Linked DNA regions of Homo sapiens: region 2 is linked to region 1. Evidence: promoter capture Hi-C in human tissues and cell types (Jung and others, 2019). All regions are on one chromosome and are shown on one strand. The core of a region is centred on a gene start or on the middle of the fragment in contact, and the rest is flanking DNA. Distances in the headings are between cores, read along the strand shown.

Region 1 (3,326 bases), core at 296-2,795:
TCAAACAAGGGCCACCCAAATAAGTTAGAGCCACAAGATGTCTGGTTCCCTATAGAAACTAAAGATAACATCTTGACCTATGTCCCTGAATTGTTTTTCACAGCTGTCACTTAGGCCTCAGATAAGGGGAAACTGAGGGCTGTTCTTTAAATTTCTTCCCAAGGGTTCTGTAAAGAGTCACACCCATAAGCCAATGCTTAACTCTCCTATCTGTGGACCCCAGGTTTTTAGACAGTCTTGCTTCCTAAGCCAATTGCAAATCACAGAATCTCTGAATCCACCTATGACCCTGCCTCAAAATGTCTCACCTTTTTGGGCCAAGCCAATGTATAGCTCCAGAGTATTTATTTATGACTTTGCCTATAACCTCTGTCTCCCCACCTTTAAAAAGCCTTACATGTAAACCATTGGGGAGTACGGGTCTTAAGCATTAGCCGACCTATTCTCCTTGCTTGGCACCCTGCAATAAATGCCTCCCTTTCTGCCGCTGCAAATCCTGGTGTCAGTGTTTGGCTTTGCTGCACTGGGTGGGCGGACCCAAGTTTGTTTCGGTAACACAAGAGGTTGACGAAATCATTAACTGAGACTTCGAAACAAATTGGAGGCGGAGAATGAACGGGCCTGAGACGCTCCACCAGCGAGTGGGCCGATGGGCTCATCAGATCAGATGGGCGTCTGTCCTGCTGCCTCAGGGCGGGGGGTGGTGGCACCCCTGAGCTCCTACTGTAGGCAAGAACTAGTCACTCCTAAACCTTCTCTATCGGATTCCCCAAGCGGCCTGGGGTGGGTAGAGATTATAGTCCCCGTTTTACAGATCAGGAAATGCAGGCTCCGTGCCATCCCAGGGCATTCCGGTAGCCAGTCACGGACAGAGAGTCAAACATGAGCCCGAGCCCGGGAGCCCATGGCAGCACGGGATTAAGTCCTCAACACGGGCCGGGGTCAGTTTTCCCATCTGACAGAGGCCCTCTGCTGCTCACAGGGGCCTGGGCTCCCACTTCTCCATCCGAACACTTGGGATGGATGTGAAGGTGGAGCCCGGAAAGGGAGGGGCGCCGCCCACCAAGTCCTGGTTCTGGCAGGCACCCTGGCCCTTGCGGGTCCTCGGTACTACACGCCGGCCCCAAGTCAGCCGCGGCCCCGGCCCGCCCTGTGGGGGCTGAACCCCAGCCCCGGCCCGATCCCTCACGGTGCAGCCAGCCCTTGGGAGGCTGCCCATGGGGATGCGCACCAACCGCAGACAGATAGGCTGGGAAGGAGAGAGAACGAGGGCCCGACCGAGCCGGTAGAGGCGGTGGGTGCCGCTAGGGGCCCCAAGTCCGCGTTCAACACAGGGGCTGGAATGAGACCGCTCCTCTGAGCGGCCGCCCACCGCACCAGTGCGCATGGGCGCACCCGGCCACCGGGCCGCCCACCCCGCCCCACGGGAGACCACGCCTCCGGCTCGCAACGGGCAAATGGGCGGAGGCCGCGGGCGGGGCGGGGCGGAGCCGGGCCCAGCTGGCCGAACCCGGGGAATGCGAGCGCCAGCCCCCGCCGCAGGCCAGTCCCAGCTGGATCTCCGGCCAGAGCCCGAGGCTGCTGCGCCGGGCGGCTGCAGCCTCCGCTCCAGCGCCCGCGCCGTGCCCTGCATCCCGGGAGCCCGGCTGGACCCGCGGCGGCTCGGCCGGTAGGAGGCGGGCGGAGGGAGGCGTGTGCTTCTGTGTGTGTGTGTGTGTGTGTTTCGGGGGGGTGTGTGCGGGTGCAGCGCGGGCCAGTGATTGCTCCGGGACCACGAATCAGTGGAGGGGGCTGCACCTCCCGCGGGCCCGGGGGGAAAGGAAGTGAGCGCTGGCTGGGGGGCGGGGTCCTGGAGCATCCGCCTGGGCCCCCTCGGCTCGTCCCCACCCCCACCCCCGGCGAGGAGTCTTTTTTTCACCTCCCTCTGGGTGTCTCCGAGTCGTTTTCCTAGTGCGGACGCGCTGGAAGCGCCTAACACCCGGGGCTAGACTGTCACTTCCTCTCATCTTCCTTACAGTTCCCCCCTTCTCTTCCCTGCTTAACCCCCCTTTCATCCCTGCAATCCACCAACCCCTTCTGGGTGCTCCACCACCCAGGCCTGGGGAAGGGGCAGGGCCGAGGCTCCTACTGCCCCAGCCTATCCGCTTCTTGGCACTACTCCCCAGGTTGAAAGGGGGCTTTTCTCCTTGACTGCAGGGCGGGCGCACGTGTGTGTGTGTGTGTGTGTGTGTGTGTGTGTGTGTGTTGCGGGAGTGTGGGGGAGTGGTCTGGGAGGGAATGGATCTTTGTTTCTCAGACCTCAGAGTTCCCACCTCTGTTCCTTTGCGTTGGGGGTCTCGGAAGACTGGCCTAGGGGACCAGAGGCGAAATAGGACAAAAGATCATTAACAGGTGCGACGTTCTCTCTCCCAGTCATTTCATGTGGTGGGATTCACCCCCAAGTTCCATACAGATCAGAAGAGTGGGGCACAGAGAAGCGAAGTCAGCTGCCCTCTCAGGATTGCTGAGCCAGAATTTGAACCCGGGTCCGCCTGGCTCTCATCCCAGAATCTTCTCCCTACACCTGTGGTTTAGAGAGAAAAGTACTGAGGGCGACTATCCCAGGACTCAGGGGAAAGAGAGATCTGGGCAGACTTCTTGGAAGAGAGGGGCTTACGGGTGAGGCTCAGCCAACTCAATGAGTCTGAGGCCTGCTGGGGGAACCACTGTGTTTTGCAAGGATTGACACCTCCCAGGGTCCTCGGGCTGGTCCTTGCTCCTGTCCCCAGGGTCTGGGGGTGGGGTGGTGTGGCTGCCTTTGCCTCCTGGGCAGGGTATGGTGGGCCCAGCTGCTGCTGCAGGCCAGGTCAGGCTAGTTGCCAGCACACAGAGGTGCTCAGGCGGGGTCTTTGCCCTGAGGAGCCTCTCTTCTGACAAGACAGGCAGTGGGTCCACAGATAAGGCCCTGTCCAGAGTTGTACCCAGTGCTGGGAGCACAAGACAGGGACTGATGGGTGCCCGGGAGCTGGGGATGAGTTCACTTGCAGATTCGTTGGGGCTGGGTCTTGAAATCCACCAAGCAGAAAAGAAAAGGCAGGTCATTGCAGCCCCAAGGAACAGCATGAGTAAAGGCCTGGCAGTGTGAAAATGAATGCTGGTGGGGTGGATTGCGGATTAGATAGGTCAGATGTGTGTCCAAGAAGGGCCACCTTTGGCTGCAGTAGTGGGTGGGCTTCCACTGAGGGCTATAAGGAGGAGGCCAAAGCAGGGAGAGGGCCCTCCCTTCTGCTCTCCTCTGCTCCCCACCCAGGGCTAGGCTTGGCAGGGGAGGAGGGACCCTGATAAAG
Region 2 (3,326 bases), core at 554-3,053, 260 kb before region 1:
GAAGAAAAGAAAGAAGAAAAAAAGGTTGCGTATAATAACTTGATTGGTAGACCTGCCGGAGGAGCCTGCTTAGCCCTGGCAGGAGGCTAAGTCATTTGGTGGGAAGCCCTTTCTCTAGGGGATGGGGTGAGAGATGACAAGAATAATAAAACTCTGAGACAAAGCCAACAGCATGCTGAGTGACTCAAAGGATTAGGGCAGCCCAGGGAGTAGGCCCCTGGGTCTCAGCGTGCAGGATTTGTCCCCACATACACGTGAAAGCCATGTGTTTGGCAGAGACACCACAGTCCTAGCCATGGGGCATCCAGAGATGGACTAGAGCCAGCCCTGGCCCCAGTGGCTTTCCATCCCATGGGAGAGTCGAATGACTGCAATACAAGGTGAAAAGTGACTGCATAGGCAGGGCACGAGCTTGAGTTCCCATCTGACAAGAGGGGCAAACTAGGTGAAAACTTGCAAGAATGGAGTTGCGGGCGGAGTGTGTTGCAGGTCTCCAACTTGTCACGGAGTTTGTGCCCACCAGAGGGCGCTGCCTTAGACACTCCCGTTCCTTTCTCCGCCCGCCCATTGCTCCCTTTCTCCCTGCCCTGTGCCGGGCTTGTCGCTCTATACACAGGCCGGGGGTTAGAGGGGTCCCCACAAGAGGAAAGCGAAGGGCAAGCTCAGACGCAGAAGTCTGATGAGCAGCGGTTTTCAGCAGCCACCAAGGACTCCACTTTCACATCTTCCCCTCCGATAAAAGAACTTTCAACCTGGTGTTTTATAGAATTTAAAAAATAATGTTTATTCAGCAGGCCGGGCCTGGTGGCTCATGCCTGTAATCCCAGAACTTCTGGAGGCTGAGATGGGAGAATTGCTTTAGTCCAGGAGTTCGAGACCAGCCCGGACAACATAGTGAGACCCTGTCTCTAAAATAAATAAATAAATATTTTTTAAAAAGTAAAATAAAATTCAATAAATAGTTTAGAGGGTCTCCTGTGTCCAGACCCAAAGACAAGTACTGGGGAAAGAGCCATGACCACAGACCACCTTGGTCCCTGCTGTCATGGAGGTGGTCATCTACGGGGAGGGCCAACAGTAAATGGGTGCCTGGGCATCTAAGTAAGTGAGGAGATGGTGAATGCTACAAAGAGGGCAAATTGGAGCACAGTAGAGGTGACGGGGGTGCCGGCAGAGGTAACGCGGTTGGGTGCTACTCTCACGTTTGAGCTGAGACTTAAAAGAAGGGAGGAAGCCAACCCTGCGGGGACCTGAGGAACCTTTTCCAAGGGAGGAAATCTCGGTGCAAAGACCTCAAGGAGTGAGTGAGCTTGGCACACTCAGGAAGGACGCGAGGCTGGCCGGGGCTTGATGGGAGAATTGAGGGCAGCGAGGCTGGCTGGATAGACCACTGTCAGTGCTGCGGATTTTACTCCAGTCACAGCAGGAAGCCAATTAGAGGCCTTTAGACAGAGGTGACACAGGCTCTGGGGACACTTTACAAAGATTGCCCTGGCTGTGAGTGCCAGAGCAGAAGCAGAGAGATCCATTAGGAAGTCCTTGCCATAAACCAGGAAGGAGATGAGAGTGACTTGATGGTAGCAGTGGAGATAGGAAGAAATGTAGGAATTTGGGTCTGTTTTAAAATAAAAATAAAACTTGCCGATGAAATGACAGGTTATTCGGTGCCAGGCGCTGAGATGTACACTTTGTGTGTATTGACTTATTCATTCTCGCTATATATAAAGCTGTTTTACAGAGGAGAAAATGGAAGCTCAGGGAGGTTAAGTAATTTGCCCAAGGTCCCATAGCCGATAAGTGACAGATTCTACATTTTAAAAACGAGTCTGTCGATTCCAGAGCCCACAAACAGACTGCTCAATGCAGAGAATGGGAAGCAAAAGATTAGACATACAGAATCAGAAATGGAATCCCAGAGTGCTAGTCCAACAACTTTGACGCAGGCTTCAGCCCAGACCAGAGACTTGTCTCAACTGTTTGGTTGTTCTCTTGGCCAAGGACAGCTGCCCTGGGATCCAAAAGCTCATCAGAGAAAGCTCCCAAGAGCTCAAGTCTGCATTCTTCCCCTCCTTGGGTAACCCACTCATGGTCACCCAGCCAGTTTAAATCCTGGGTCCTCTGACCTTCCTGTCCAGGCCTCCTCCCTATCCCCACAGAGCCCGCTCAGCACAGGGTAAGACCAAGAACATCACGTGGCCACTGCTCACGTCAGATGAGAGCATGGCATATTCCCCTCCTGAGTTCTTGGCTTTTTAACACGGACCTCAGAGCTTTAACTAAAAGTATTTGACTATGCATCCAGGTGCTGTGGCTCATGCCTGTAATCCCAGCACTTTAGGAGACCGAGGCCAGTGGATCACTTGAGATCGGGAATTCAAGAGCAGCCTGGCCAACATGGTGAAACCCCATCTCTACTAAAAGAACAAAAAATACAAAAAAAAATAGCAAGCCTGTAATCCCAGCTATTTGGGAGACTGAGGCAGGAGAATTGCTTGAACCCAGGAGGCAGAGAGAGGCTGCAGTGAGCTGAGATCACACCACTGCACTCCAGCCTGGGCGACAGAGGGAGACTCCATCTCAAAAAATAAAAAATAAAAATAAAAAAAATTGGCCGGGCGCGGTGGCTCACGCCTGTAATCCCAGCACTTTGGGAGGCTGAGGCGGGCAGATCACAAGGTCAGGAGATCAAGACCATCCTGGCTAACACGGTGAAACCCCATCTCTACTAAAAATACAAAAAATTAGCCGGGTGTGGTGGTGGATGCCTGTAGTCCCAGCTACTCGGGAGGCTGAGGCAGGAGAATGGCATGAACCCGGGAGGCGGAGCTTGCAGTAAGCCGAGATCGCGCCACTGCACTCCAGCCTGGGCAACAGAACGAGACTCTGTCTCAAAAACAAACAAAAAAATTGATTATGTGGAGGCACCCAGGCATAAAGGTAGGTCAGCAGGGAAGGTATTTTGCTCCTCAAATTGGGGTGGCAGAGAGCTGGGGTACCTTGAATTCAATCATTCCTACCATGTTCAAGCTGCGTCACAGAAGCGTGGGACATGAACACTGTTTACAACCCATTTCTAACAAGCTCAGAGCCTGCTGAAAGAGTTACCAAGGTAATCAGCTGGAGCCCCCGTCACAGGGCCTGGCACACTGAGGGGTTCCTTCCTCCGCTCCCTGAGGCTGGGGTTCAGGGAGCACATCCCAGGACATGACGCCGTGTCGGTTTTGACTGGTCAGTACTGGTGCGATGCTAGTGTCAGTCCTTTGGCTTTCTCTGCCCGCTACATGTTAGGTCTAATCCATCCCAAGTTAGGATTGGGTCATTATTTC

What was found. Contacts are between HindIII fragments. The study calls those that stand out against the background at their distance.
Region 2: a contact is called between a fragment that was not itself captured here and the fragment with the promoter of CAPN5 in region 1, in 4 of the 25 tissues and cell types used here (bladder, dorsolateral prefrontal cortex, hippocampus and 1 more).

Annotation. Positions count from the first base shown.
Region 1 is chr11:77,065,426-77,068,751 of GRCh38, forward strand. It overlaps CAPN5 (calpain 5), which reads left to right and starts at 1,546. Exons shown (of 13, transcript NM_004055.5): 1 at 1,546-1,669. RefSeq lists an enhancer at 705-1,205 and a silencer at 1,062-1,751. The HindIII fragment of the contact is 16,009 bases long and covers 1-3,326 here.
Region 2 is chr11:76,807,068-76,810,393 of GRCh38, forward strand. No RefSeq gene overlaps it. Among named protein-coding and RNA genes, the nearest start is that of TSKU, 25 kb to the left of the region's middle. RefSeq lists enhancers at 298-347, 428-477. The HindIII fragment of the contact is 6,333 bases long and covers 1-3,326 here.